Linked DNA regions of Homo sapiens: all the other regions are linked to region 5. The links are contacts of gene promoters, found by promoter capture Hi-C in blood cells and fetal thymus (Javierre and others, 2016). All regions are on one chromosome and are shown on one strand. The core of a region is centred on a gene start or on the middle of the fragment in contact, and the rest is flanking DNA. Distances in the headings are between cores, read along the strand shown.

Region 1 (2,739 bases), core at 179-2,678, 4.4 Mb before region 5:
TTTTTACTGGCTTTATAAAAACTCAATAGATGGCTATTCCATAATTTTAAAAACTCAGTAATTCCAAGGGGAACATCATATCTCCACAGGTGGACTGTCAATAATTTTGAGAAAAATTTTCCCCCATGATTCTGATTTGTTTTAACCAACCTATTAATTTTGAAATTTCAAACAGTGTTAATGGAAGACACCCTGACCCTTCCCTTTGGAAAATATGGGCTAAATAAAAGCGGTTGAAAAATAATGATTTTATCAATGTCCCTTGTTGGACATTCAGTTTATTTAAATGGATACACCTCATACCCAAATCTTTTTAGAGTTCTCATTAGGTTTAGGATACTTCTGAAAGGGTGGAATTGCTGGACCAAACGATGTGAACATTTTAATAGTCTTGATACATACTGACTGTCTGCCAGAAAACTTAGGAGTTTTAAATCTCCGACAACATTGTATGAGAAAGCTCATTATCTCACATATGGATCTACAGTAATCCTCTTAAATTGTATATCGTTCTGACTTGTATTTCCTACTTTTACATAGCTTCATTTCCCAATTCCTGTTAGAATTCCCTGATTCTAACAGGATCACACTGATCCTGTTAGAAGAGAGAAATATATGACTCTCACTTCCTTGCTCCTGTGACTGTAAGAATGCCTACCATTCATTAAACGTTAAACTCTCCGCAGGAATGAGACTAGAGTGCCCTTAATATTATTACCGGCATCTCATTGATCCCTCAAAACGACTCCTTGTCGTTGTTCTTATCTTCTAAGTGAAATGACCTAGACGTTGGGGGAGGGCAGCCCCAACCCACAGCGAAGAGCTTAAGTACTGGGATCCGAGACGGGATTTCACACACCTGTAACTAGCACCAGAGTTAAGGGGTGGGGAGGGGCAGCGTGGGCAAAGCGAAACGAAACCGAGCAAAAACAAAAACTACGGCCTTGCCGCTTGCTGTCTCCTTCTAGTTGGCCAGTTTCTAAATTAAAATAGAGGTAGCTTTGCTGCTGTCAGCGGCGTGTGTACGGACCAGTTTATTCCATTCCTAAGGACCAGACTGTCAGCGACAACTCGCATTGCGTGAGCGAGGAGGCTGCTCAGCTGAAAGCTGAGGCAGATGGTGCACATTTATACCCTTTGCAAAAGGAAATGGTCTGATATGGGAAATAGGAGGAGCGACTGTTCCTAGGTAATTCGTGGCTACAGTGGACACTTTGAAGTCTGGGGGACGCGAAGGTAATGAAACCTGAAGAGCGCACAATCTCACACGATCGACGCCTCTGGGCTCAAACAGGAGGAAGAAGGACGCATGCGTCACGCGCACGCCAGGGGTGTCCCTCCGGGAGCGCTCTGCGCAGGCGCGGACGCAGGTTACAGCAGCGCTTGGCCTCTGCTGATGCCGTCGTTATCCTACCCCTCCCCCGTCCCAGCTCTACGGCGGCCGCGCGCTCCAGGCCGGTCGCTCCACCCCCCGGCTCCCGGGACTGTGGACTCCACGACCCTGTCCTCGGCCCTGTCCGCGCCGAAGCAGCCCGGGACTGCGCAGCGCCCCGCGTGCCGGTGAGCGACCCCGGACGTGCAGTCCCCAGGTCCCCTTCCGGAGCGAGGCTGAGCGGCTGCGCCGCGGCTTGAGCCGGGCCTGACAAGGAGGGGAGGCCGCTGGGGTGCTGGGCCAGCCGCAGGTACGGCGGCGGTCAGGGCTGGTGATCGAGTTGCTGTGTCGCCTCTAATGAGGCCCAGCCAGGGAACACTCGGCTTCGGCCCAAGCCCTACCTCTGGGTTGCCTCTAGGCCCTCACACCTTGAGCGCCAGGTGGCCCTCTTCCTTTTGCTGTTGATGAATGTTCTTGCCGTGGTGCCGGGATCTTATTTTGCAGCTTTACAGAGTAGGCTTTGTGCTAGGTGTTGTTTATGGAGCTTTTCAAAGGCGCTTGTTTCCTTAGTTCTCAAGCCCTTTTAGAACTAAAACCAGTGTCTACACAGAAGATCAGGAGCCATTTAAATTGGAGTGCTGTGATATATTTTTTCTCTCCAAACTGAGTCTGATATCCATGTTGACTTTCAGTAAACTAAGGAACCGCTATAATAAATAACACTGAGCCCACAGAGGTTGCAGAAGAGGGTCTAGCACCCCTTTTTTAAACCATTGAGTCTCCCAAGAATAAAAGTGGTTACACTTGTCAGTTCTCTAAGGAAAATCTAGTAGAGAAGGCAAGGGATTCCCAGTTTCTCACAGAGTCTGGCACTTGTCCAAACACCTACCCTAAAGCAGAATCGATCATGGCAGCTATTAGATTAGGACAGAAAACAGGCTCAAACGGAGAGCCACTTGAGTCTGCCTTTCTGTGTCTTTTTTCTCAACGCGCTCCAGTTAAGATGCAGCTTACAGCCTGGCTGTGTTGACTGAGATCCCAGAAAGAGTGCCCTTAAGGCCTTGCTGATAAGGCCCAATGATCCCAATTCATCTAGTGTTCCGCATAGACCCCAAGGTTACAGTGTGTGGGGACAGTGATGTTAAGTCTTCCCTATCCTACCTGTGGCTGACAGGTGTTGATTAAGACAATGATTTTTTAGAAGTCATAAATCATTTGTATTTTTGATGTGGGCAGTGATTTTTATAAATACATAGTTTTTTTTTTTTGAAAGAGTGAAAATCTCATTTTACATTTGTTTGCATACCATTTGTATAGTTTTTTAAATTCTGTTTATTTGAGTGACAGCAACAAGTGGATGGCATGCG
Region 2 (2,700 bases), core at 68-2,567, 3.1 Mb after region 5:
TGTATTTGTATCTCTCCTACAGCTTAAAGCTCCTTGAAACAGAGATTTTATTTTTTGTTTTTGTATCTCAAGTGTTCGGTATGTAATATAAACATACAAGAAGTGTATATTGGTGCTTGGAAGAATCTGCAGATTCTAGACATGGGTGGAGGTCCAGGATCCCTTAAGAAACTGATAAAAACTTCCGATGCAGTGCCCAAGGAACTTCACATAGGAATTCCTGAAGGGCAATCATGAATCCCTAGAGAATCCATTCCCTCTAGTTTTAGAACCCCGCTTTTAAACCAAAGTATAGTCCAGAGGAATACTCAAGCACATGCCCGCGCCCCCCGCCCCACACCTCTGTAATTCTAAGTTTTCAAGTCACTTTTGAATACCGTAATATAAATGCATACGTTTTGGTTTTTTCTCTCCCCAAAGCAACAGGCTCACTAGTTCGACTGAATAAATCTTCTTAAAAACAACAAAATCCCGCTAAACTAATGGCATTTTCATAATCCCCAGATCAGGTCCAAGAGAAGAGAAAATGGGGAAATTACCAGAGCGAAATCCAACAACAAAAAAGGTCCTTCATGTTTTACAAATAGAACGGTTGTACTAATGCTTCGTATGCTATCTTCTATGGAATGAGAATCTACTCAAGCACTGCAAACCAGATTTTTATCGTCAAATGAGAAAGCATCATCCGTAAGGGGATAAATGAAACGTTGAATGCCAAACAGAACTGGGCCTACTAGGTCTCCAGATCCCTGGTCTTTTCCTACCCCTACACCAGGGTTCTGGAGCAAGAATCTCCACTCCCTCCGCCCACACCTGAACTTCATCTTTAAGTTTTCTTCTCTATCTATGAAAGGGACCCTGTATAGATCTTTACCAGAGCGGTACTGGCCTTGAGGGACGGATCGCGACTCTAGAAATCCAGGGGGCTAAGCTCTGGGGGGCAATGCGACCTTTGCCATTTGCCCCTTTCTGCTGCGTCGTCAGCACATCCACCTGCTTTACTTCCCGTGCACAAAAGAAGGAACAGGCAAAGAGATCGGTACCTCTCAGAATAGCGAAGGAGCTCCGCATCAAGCTGTTCTCGAATGCCGGTGCGTTTCCTGTTAAGGTAGCGGGGCGACAGCGCGATGTGCCTTTGGTGCGGCCCGGCCACCAGGCATGAGTAGCGACTGTTCACCAGCGCACAAGCAGCGGCATAAGTCGGCAACTCTAGGCAAGGCAGGACGCCAGCCTGCCCTACCAGAGACCCATCAGAAGCCGCCGCTGGCCGCGGCGCCTCTGAGCAACCTGCAGCCATGCTGCTTGTCAAGGTTCCCACGGCGCGCGCCGTTGACGCAAGCACAATCCCATGTCCCCGGCGCTCGTTTTACGCCATCCACCAACGACCACGCCCCTAGGAATTTCCCCTCTTTTCGCTGCATTACGCAGCCCTGACCAGCAGGGGGAACCGCGTTTTCGCGCTTCGAGAACGGGAGCTTAGAGCCTCGGAAATGCATTGAGCACGCAGGAAAGCCAACCGACTGCTCTTTTAAGGGCAGGCAAATGTGTGTTTTCGCACAGAGGCTTATTGGATTAAGTAGGTAGCTTAAAAATGGGGGTTCTCACTTTGATCATTTCCAGTAGTGAGGTGGGTTTGGTAGAATTTTACAGGCTTGGACTGTACAATAAAAAATCAAAATATTTATGGAGTATATTTTATGCAGTACACGGAATCCTAAGCAGGCCTGATAATTGTAATGCAACGCATCTGAAAACGAACCCACTAGTTCTCTCCTGTCCCGCTTCTCTTCTCATTATGCAACTGCTAAATCAGGGAATCATACAGCCAAGCTGTCAGCCTCGGATCCTCTTTTGTATCCCCAAGTATCAAATCAGCCTGAAGACCTGTATTGCCCAAAGTGGAAATATCATTCTATTTGGACACTATTCTCTTTCCCTGCCGCCAAAACCGCAGGACTCCCTGCCTGTGGAAGCCTAGCTCAATGGTCAGGAGGACACTCTGGGGCAGCCAGATCTTCCCTGAAATACATATGATCGTGTTGTGCCCTGTTTAAGCCCTACATAGGCACCCCATTTTCTCTAGGACAACACAAACTCATGAAAATGGCTTATAAGTTACAAGGCCATTTTGTGATCTGCGTGGGCACACAGCCTCTCTCTTCAGCTTCATTTGTCACACTCCCCACCCTAATATTATCATGCTGCTTGATCTACTTTCAGGTCTCTCTTTGTGCAGTCTCACGCTGTTCCTTCCACCAGGGAATATAATAGCATTTTTCACAAGGGTAAATTCTACTCATGTATGAATTTCTAGCTTAGATTTTACATTCTATACCTTTGCAAAGAGTTTTCAAGCACCCCACTCCTCTTTCTCTATAAGGATTAGGTAGTTACCCATCTATGTTGGTTTTTATGTTAATTTTTTATTAACTGTCTTTGCTTGCCTGTTCCATCAATAGATTCCTACACTCACTAAAGTGGGGACCATAATATCTGTATTGTTCACTACAGTAGCCCCCCACAATTTATCCCTCCTCCAAAGAAACGAAACCAAGAAAAACCCAACCAATACATCTTGAATGAATAACCTGATAGTGAGTTAATAAATAATAAGTGATAAAGAGCTCACAGCCTAAGTGGAAGTGGGATCTAAACATAAACATATAACAGGTTATGCTGGATAAGTGCCAAGAGAAATGT
Region 3 (2,700 bases), core at 66-2,565, 4.0 Mb before region 5:
CAAGTAAATCTCTTAACCTAACTAAGCCTCAGTTTCCTCATTTATAAAATAATGGTAAATCGCACAGATCTTGCTTTCCCTAGAGGACAGTTTTGAGGATAATTGATAAATGCGAGAAACTAAAAAAAAAACCCTGTAAACTAACTGCCTTGCATTCATTTATTTAACATATGTTGGTTTTTAGAGAAATTCTAATTTTTTTTTCAAATGTCAAATTTAGATCTCAGTTTGGTCATTAAATTACTTGCAGATAGCCAGCGATTTTATCTTTCTCTTCACTAGATCAGAAACTATGCTGCATCATTGCTCAGTTTACCTGCTTTACACCAAAAAGAATTCCGTAGTCTAGAGTAATGCTTAAATCTTAATTGCTTATGACAAATATGTTGTTTTAGTTAAGTTCTGTGATCTTCAGAAACCTAAAAAGTAAAAGTAATCATATATCAATAAAGTACTATTTTATCTAACAATTATTCATATTACAGCTACAGCAACTTCATTCATTCTCCCCAGAACAACCCAGTAAGAAAAATGAGGCACAAAGATTCTAAGGCACACTTAATTTGCTCATTTATTCATTCTATAAATCTTTTCTAAACGCTTATCAATTGCCCGGTTTGGAACTAGTGGTAGAAACTATGAGATCTGCAGTCCTGTTTGATTCTTCCTTTGATCCTGCACAACCTAAAGAGGGCGCACTTACCACTCCTATCTTGAATCTTCCCTGAAAGCTTGTTTTGCTTTTCGCAACACAACCTTCTGTGCTAGGGATGACCTACATTCACTACAAGTGAAAGTAAGACCTACATACAGTCCTGCTGTCAATACAGCTGAGCAGTTGCAACTCCTTCTTCCTCCACCTCTGTCCAAGCCCTCTTTTAGTTCTGTAGACAAAGATCACAATATGGATTCATACTGGCCTGGATTGTAAGCATAGTAGAGAAGCAGTCTCCCCTGCCAGAGTAAACGCACCTGTACCTGGCACCATCTCTTCTGACTCCCTCCCAACAATTAAAGAATTGTACAAAGCAATCTGGTTTTTAAAAATTCTGTGAACCTGAAAATATAGGCTTTTCTCCAAGTTTCCGTCTTCTGTCTTCTTTAGTATTATCACCTACATTCCATCTTATCAGTGACTTGAAATTTATCCTGCACCAACTTCTGACAGCTTCAGTCAGTGATTTCCAGTTACTTCTTGTTCTATTAGTTTCTAAAGACCTTACCTTGAGATAATCTGATTAAGTAGATCTGAGTGGAAAATTGTAAAATCCAGCTTCTAGAACCTTATGCTCAATGATAAAAAGATCTCCAGATTCCATTCCAAGATGGCCGAACAGGAACAGCTCCAGTCTGCAGCTCCCAGTGTGAATGACGTAGAAGACAGGTGATTTCTGCATTTCCAACTGCGGTACCTGATTCATCTCATTGGTGGTTGGACAGTGGGTGCAGCCCACGGAGGGTGAGCCAAAGCAGGGTGGGGTGTCACCTCACCCGGGAAGCACAAGGGATCAGGGGATTTCCCTTTCCTAGGCAAGGGAAGCCATGTACCTGGAAAATCAGGACACTCCCACCCTAATACTGTGCTTTTCTATTGGTCTTAGCAAATGGCACACCAGGAGATTATATTCTGCACCTGGCTCAGCAGGTCCCACACCCATGTAGCCTTGCTCACTCCTAGCGCAGCAGTCTGAGATTGACGAGCTGACAGAAGTAGGCTTCAGAAGGTCGGTATAACAAACTTCTCCGAGCTAAAGGAGGATGTTCGAACCCATCGCAAGGAAGTTAAAAACCTTGAAAAAAAGATTAGATGAATGGCTAACTAGAATAAACAGTGTAGAGAAGACCTTAAATGACCTGATGGAGCTGAAAACCATGGCATGAGAACTATGTGACGCGTGCACAAGCTTCAATAGCTGATTTGATCAAGTGGAAGAAAGGGTATCAGTGATTGCAGATCAAATTAATGAAATAAAGCGAGAAGAGAAGTTTACAGAAAAGGAATAAAAAGAAATGAACAAAGCCTCCAAGAAATATGGGACTATGTGAAAAGACCAAATCTACATTTGATTGATGTACCTGAAAATGATGTGGAGAATGGAACCAAGTTGGAAAATACTCTTCAGGATATTATCCAGGAGAACTTCCCCAACCTAGCAAGGCAGGCCAACATTCAAATTCAGGAAATACAGAGAACACTGCAAAGATACTCCTCTAGAAGAGCAACCCCAAGACACATAACTGTCAGATTCACCAAGGTTGAAATGAAGGAAAAAATGTTAAGGGCAGCCAGAGAGAAAGGTCAGGTTACCCACAAAGGGAAGCCCGTCAGACTAACAGCAGATCTCTTGGCAGAATCCCTACAAGCCAGAAGAGAGTGAGGGCCAATATTCAACATTCTTAAAAAAAAAAGAATTTTCAACCCAGAATTTCATATCCAGCCCAACTAATCTTCATAAGTGAAGGAGAAATAAAATCCTTTACAGACAAGCAAATGCTGAGAGATTTTGTCACCACCAGGCCTGCCTTACAAGAGCTCCTGAAGGAAGCACTGAACATGGAAAGGAAAAACCAGTACCAGCCACTGCAAAAACATGCCAAATTGTAAAGACCATCGATGCTAGGAAGAAACTGCATTAACGAACGAGCAAAATAACCAGCTAACATCATAATGACAGGATCAAATTCACACATAACAATATT
Region 4 (2,700 bases), core at 35-2,534, 4.0 Mb before region 5:
TCTTGAGTACACCATCATTTGAAGCTGGAATTTTACCTTTAAGGTTTAAATTTGGCGGAACATTCTGGAAATGTAAAATCATAATGTTAATATTAAAATCTATGAAGATCAGAAGTAATAGTCTCAACAAACCATAGCCAGAGTATGTATTCAATTCTGTGCATGCACATTAAAAATATGGGAATACCTGTACAGGAAGCTAGTTTAGGAGGATGTTAAATGTACTGGCTAAAAACATGAGCTTTGGAGTCAGATCAGTGTTCAAATCCTGGCTCTCCCGTTATTACACATGAACCTTTAGCAAATTCCTTGAAACTTATGATGAGAATGCCCTCCTGGTTAAATGAAGACTGTTTCATAGAATTTTGAGAGTGTTGAAATAACATGTACAAACTTTCACATATTGCCAAGCATTTGATAAAAACTGACCTACTATTGTTAACCAGTAGGAATCAATATGTTTATTATTTCATCTGGGGCAATTTACTTGCAGCCTTAGTTTCTTAATTTGTAAAGTGTGGGTTATATATATCTACCACTGGGGTATAACTGATTAAAAGGATTAAATCAAGCAATGATATTTAGCAGAGTAACTGACACTTTAGTAAGCATTCAATTGATAGTTATTAATAGCCAGAATACCTTATGATCAACGTATTTAAAGAAAATACTTGTTTTGGCAGGGGAATATAACATAGTGAGCTCATACATGTCACAAAATGGCAACTTGGTGGAACTTAGTGAAAGTCTAAATATGCTGAACTCCCTTGAAATATGGATCATTTCAAGGGATCATATGGTACTTAGGTTTCTAAAGTACCAATTTATTGTAACACAATATTATCTTACCTTTCCCTGTAAGAGATAAAATTTAATTTAAAATCTCGGTTATTTTCTGGTGTAGGCATATATCAAAATACAATACCTCACTTTTCAGACATTAAAATTTGAAACTATATATTATGGTTCTTCAAAATGCCTCAAGATTGTTATCTATAATTCACAAATTTGATCGAATGATAAGATCAAATTTGCAGTATCTGTGGGCACATCTGGTTGATGATGGTGGTTGTGTTTGTGGGTGATTATGTGTGCTGTGTTATTTTCCAGTTACTTTCAGTCTTTGGTCTTGTTTTATGTCTCCTGTTTATGTTGCACTGAAGTGGAGATTACCTGTATTAGTGGTTGAAGAGAGATGTTGAAGTTGATTCATTTCAGTGAAGGTCTACCTTTAGATAAAATCTTAACTTTTTGTTATGACAGATTTCAATCTTATACAGAAGTAGAATAATATAACAAACACCCAAGTATCTGTCATCTAGTTTCATTAATTATCAACTCAGGGCCAATCTGGTTTCCTCTATACTTCCATTCACTTCCTTCCATGCCACCTTCCTTTTTCCTCCACTTCTAGATTATTTTGAAGTGAGTTCTGGAAATTACATTTCATTTATAAATAGTGGTATATGTGTCTAAAAGATAATCACTTAAAAAAATTTCACTCACATGTAAAAAAAATATGCTTCTTCAAAATAACCAAATATCCATCCAGTGTTTAGATTTCTATTATTATTATTATTTGAGACAGAGTCTTGCTCTTTTCACCCAAGCTGGAGTGCAATGGCATGATCTCAGTTAACTGCAACCTCAGTCTCCTGGGTTCATGCCATTCTCTTGCCTCAGTCTCCCCAGTATCTAGGATTACAGACACTTGCCACCATGCAGGGCTAATTTTTGTGTTTTTAGTAGATACGAGGTTTCACCATGTTGGCCAGGCTGGTCTCGAACTCCTAACCTCGTGAACCTCCCAACTCGGCCTCTCAAAGTGCTGGGATTACAGGCGTGAGAATACAGAAAATTAGCTGGGCGTGGTGGTGCATGCCTGGAGTCCCAGCTACTCGGGAGGCTGAGGCAGGAGAATTGCTTGAACCCAGAAGGCGGAGGTTGCAGTGAGCCAAAATTGCGCCATTGCCCTCTAGCCTGGGTGACAAGAGCGAAACTCCATTTCAAAAAATATATATATATTTGATATATTGATATATTTCTATCTCTTGCAGCTTATTATTCCCATTTATGCATAAATTGTCTCATCTTTAGAGAGAACTGAGTCTTTTTCACAGAACCCTAGTAGTTTTTGATGGCTTTTTTGATTTCTCATTTAACACAAAGTCCCTTAACCTGTACATTTCCTGTCCCAGATCTGTTTTTCTAGGATGCCAGGTTCCTTGTATTAGGAAATGGTATTTAGAGTCCACAGTCTATTACTGGATTTGTCATTGTTTCTAGGCCTTTTCAGTGGATAGTACTAGAACTCTATTTTTTTAAGATTAGATACATTATTAATTCACAGTGATAGTTCCAATTCAAAGATTTACATTCAGAATGATAAGGCATTTATTTAGTTTCAGTGATATTATTATCTCTTTTCACTCATGCCAAAAATATTAGTTATGAGCAACACACAGTTGTTTATTTGCTTTATTCCACTTTAATCTCAATGCAATACTACTGTCAATAATTTGATGACTGGTAGTGGTTTAAGAATGTTGTAGTTACCTTTGTCCTTTAGGTATATCTCACTGGAGGTAAATTCTTGTATTTTAAGGTCACTTGGAATTGTTATTTTATGTGGGATTATGTTTTAGATATATTTGTTTCACAAAATCTCTTACTTGCTTTGTAGACATGTTGAGTCTGGTT
Region 5 (2,700 bases), core at 154-2,653:
TAGTTGAGATCAGATCGGGTGGGCTCAGCTCATCAGCACCTGTTGAGTTCAAACCGGAATTTTTTCTCCTTCGCATGTGGAGTTTCCTTGTCGCTATGAAGAATAAATCTGCCTTATTCTCTAGGATTCCACATTTCAGCCTGGCTACTAAGTAAATAAAACTGGAAACTGGGAAGCCTTATGCTGCAATGACTGGCATCTCTGCCATTCGAGGACAAACATGGCTATATTATTATTGAGTTTAAAATCACCACATTAATTGCCCGGAGTCGCACGCATCACCATCCCTGCACCGTGAGGGTGCAGAAGAAGCATGCAGTCACGCTGATGTCACCTGCCAGGTAACGGGACTCGGCAGGGAACTCCTCTGGGACGTCCACTCGGGGACTCCGGGGAAATATGGCTTCTGGCTCGTCCTCGGGGCTCCCCGCTGGGACTCAGCACTGCGGAAGTGGGGCACGCCTTGGGGGAGTGGACAAGAAAGCGCGAAGGAGCGCGATTAGAAGGTCTCATCTGTGCAACGTGGGCCGAGGGGTGGGTGTGGAGGCCTCGCCAATTTCCTTGTCTCTCTAGGGTTCCTGAGGCTGTCGGGGCTTCTGGAAGCCAGGGAGGCCCTGGATACGGAAGTCTCAATGCAGCAAATTACAGACCTAGTTCTGTACCCTTATGAAGAACCCCTCTCCCTAAGGGCGCCCTCCACTCCCAAGCGGGGGCGGGGATCGGCAAAGGATCCAGATCATTCGGCCTGCGGAAGTCTAAAGGGTCATTTAGACACCCGCCTAAGAACCTGAAACTACCAGGACTGACCGCGGTCAAAATCCCTCGGGAGCAGTGAAGAATTCACACACTGGGGTCCACACCCCGGGAAGCTCGCATTAACCTAAGGCGGGGCGTGGAAATCCGTACGTTTCCAAAAGCGGATTTAGAGGCCGAGCCTCTGTAACTACCCCTCTTGTCCCAGCACTGCTTCTGCCTCCCCACCTCTCCGCCCCTGCAACCTTTCCCAGACCAAAGGGAGAAACGCTCTTTCCCGGTTCCAGGCTGCAAACCTTGCAGAACCGCAGCCAAAGGTCACCCAGGCCAGGAGCGCCCCCCGGGCTCCGCCACGCCCCCCGGCCAGGCTGGCCGCGGCCGCGTCGCAGCCCAGCACCCGTACCTTTCCCGATGACTTCCAGTAGCTCCTTCTCCTCCTGGGTCAGCTCGCCTTTCTTTATGTGAACCATTGCTCCCGCCAGCTTGAAGGTTATTCCCTTTCTTAGGGAGTATTAAAAAAGAAACGATGCGTCTGTATTGGGAACGCCAGCCGCAATGAGGCAACTTGAGACCAAGACACTGAGTAGCCAACCGCGGAAACGCTTCGCTTCTCTCCTCCCTCCCGCGGGCTGGCGGACAGCGGGCGAGCTCGGGCGAGCCAGGCGGACGGTCTCCGCAGGCCCTGCGGCGGTCACCGCCTGCCGCCTGTCATTGGCCCTGCCGAGGAGGAGGAGCCGCAGGAGGCGGTAGCGAGAGATCGCCATTGGAGCAACCTGGGAGGACAAAACCAAATGCAGAAAGCTGGAGGGGGGAATTAAATTCCTCCTACACGTTCCGCTCCCCTATCCTGTCCGGTTCAAATATTTCGCCACATGTAATATTGAAAATTCTACAGCTGGCAGTTATGTGCTCAGCGACGGCTTTCTGGGGCATGCAGAGGCCCCAGGTTGTCGCCGTACCCCCACCATTCCCCCGGGAGTGGCGCAGTCTGGGCGGGGGCGGTCTAGGAGACGGGGGCGGTACGGGAGGCGGGGCTGCGCCGGGTTCCGTGTGTCTATGTCAATGTGTCTGTCCTTCACTCCTCCATTGTCTGCCGCCACTGCTGCTGCTGCTGCTGCTGCCGCTGCTGCTGCACGAATCGCCGCAGCCCCCAGCCTTGCGCGTCGTCGCTACCTCCTCGGACAGGTGAGAAGCAGCCCAGGTGAGGCAAGGGGCGCCGTGAGGGTTGCGAGAGTAGCGACTGCCGCCCCGCCGGGGTTTCCATCGGGCAGGAGCTGGCGGGGAGGAAGCATGTGCCTCCTGGGGCGGCTTCCTGCCTCGCGGTGGAGAAGCCCCCGCTCCACCTCATCATCACGGCGCGTACGGGGTATCAGTGCCCTGGGATGAAGACCTCCGACTCGCAACGTTTGGCCGCCTCGGGAGACCCTGGGACCGCGGGCGGGCGGGCGGGGGCCAGCCACGCGGTGGGAAGTGGCGGGTGCACATGGTCTCGTGCGTGGCACCGCCAGATGCGGCTCCCGGGGAGGCTGGGGCCGGGGCTCTGGGCTAGGTAGGGGTCGCAAGGACAGCGCCCCATTACTAGCGAGTCAGTGAGAACAGACTCGGGAGAAGGTAGTTTTTACGCTGGTGATCCTCGCCCTCCCCACTACTTGTCATCTCTTTGGCCTCTGTGGAAGCTGTAGAAGAAAACCTGATCGCCCAATGTTGCTTGTTAAAGATGTTTGGAAACAATTTACACTTGCACTAATACTTCGTTTATGAGAGACAGCCTGTGGGAGGGGGAAGGAAGGGCTTCTTTGCTCTGCTAGAGTTCTCGGTTCTCTTTGTAACTCAGATCTTGAGATTTATGGAAATAGGGAGTGGAGGGTGGGGAGGTTGGAGAGGGCGGAGATTAAATTGGTGTTGCTGCCTATATATAGCCTTAGATTAGCCTCTTAATCCAACCTT

The links. The method cuts DNA at HindIII sites, captures the fragments that hold promoters and counts their contacts. A CHiCAGO score of 5 or more calls a contact.
Region 1: a contact is called between the fragment with the promoter of TMEM106B here and the fragment with the promoter of ANKMY2 in region 5, in 3 of 17 cell types (naive CD8 T cells, activated CD4 T cells and naive CD4 T cells). The highest score is 8.0, in naive CD8 T cells.
Region 2: a contact is called between the fragment with the promoter of POLR1F here and the fragment with the promoter of ANKMY2 in region 5, in 1 of 17 cell types (non-activated CD4 T cells). The highest score is 5.5, in non-activated CD4 T cells.
Region 3: a contact is called between a fragment that was not itself captured here and the fragment with the promoter of ANKMY2 in region 5, in 1 of 17 cell types (naive CD8 T cells). The highest score is 6.4, in naive CD8 T cells.
Region 4: a contact is called between a fragment that was not itself captured here and the fragment with the promoter of ANKMY2 in region 5, in 2 of 17 cell types (non-activated CD4 T cells and total CD4 T cells). The highest score is 6.3, in non-activated CD4 T cells.

The regions. Positions count from the first base shown.
Region 1 is chr7:12,209,866-12,212,604 of GRCh38, forward strand. TMEM106B (transmembrane protein 106B) reads left to right here and starts at 1,429. Exons shown (of 8, transcript NM_001134232.2): 1 at 1,429-1,560. RefSeq lists enhancers at 828-977, 1,111-1,629, 1,188-1,237, 1,630-2,146 and a silencer at 1,418-1,727. The HindIII fragment of the contact is 6,470 bases long and covers 1-2,739 here.
Region 2 is chr7:19,707,720-19,710,419 of GRCh38, forward strand. POLR1F (RNA polymerase I subunit F) reads right to left here and starts at 1,318. Exons shown (of 4, transcript NM_001002926.2): 1 at 1,044-1,318. The coding sequence starts at 1,297. RefSeq lists enhancers at 442-1,046, 1,011-1,080, 1,047-1,649, 1,191-1,470. The HindIII fragment of the contact is 8,345 bases long and covers 1-2,700 here.
Region 3 is chr7:12,674,353-12,677,052 of GRCh38, forward strand. It overlaps LOC105375157 (a long non-coding RNA gene), which reads right to left and starts at 1,238. Exons shown (of 3, transcript XR_927043.2): 1 at 1,058-1,238; 2 at 317-419. RefSeq lists an enhancer at 732-1,931. The HindIII fragment of the contact is 1,173 bases long and covers 730-1,902 here.
Region 4 is chr7:12,691,972-12,694,671 of GRCh38, forward strand. No RefSeq gene overlaps it. Among named protein-coding and RNA genes, the nearest start is that of ARL4A, 5.7 kb to the left of the region's middle. The HindIII fragment of the contact is 4,891 bases long and covers 1-2,700 here.
Region 5 is chr7:16,644,351-16,647,050 of GRCh38, forward strand. It overlaps ANKMY2 (ankyrin repeat and MYND domain containing 2), which reads right to left and starts at 1,404. Exons shown (of 10, transcript NM_020319.3): 1 at 1,157-1,404. The coding sequence starts at 1,223. BZW2 (basic leucine zipper and W2 domains 2) reads left to right here and starts at 1,831. Exons shown (of 12, transcript NM_014038.3): 1 at 1,831-1,938. RefSeq lists an enhancer at 1,531-1,810. The HindIII fragment of the contact is 5,140 bases long and covers 1-2,700 here.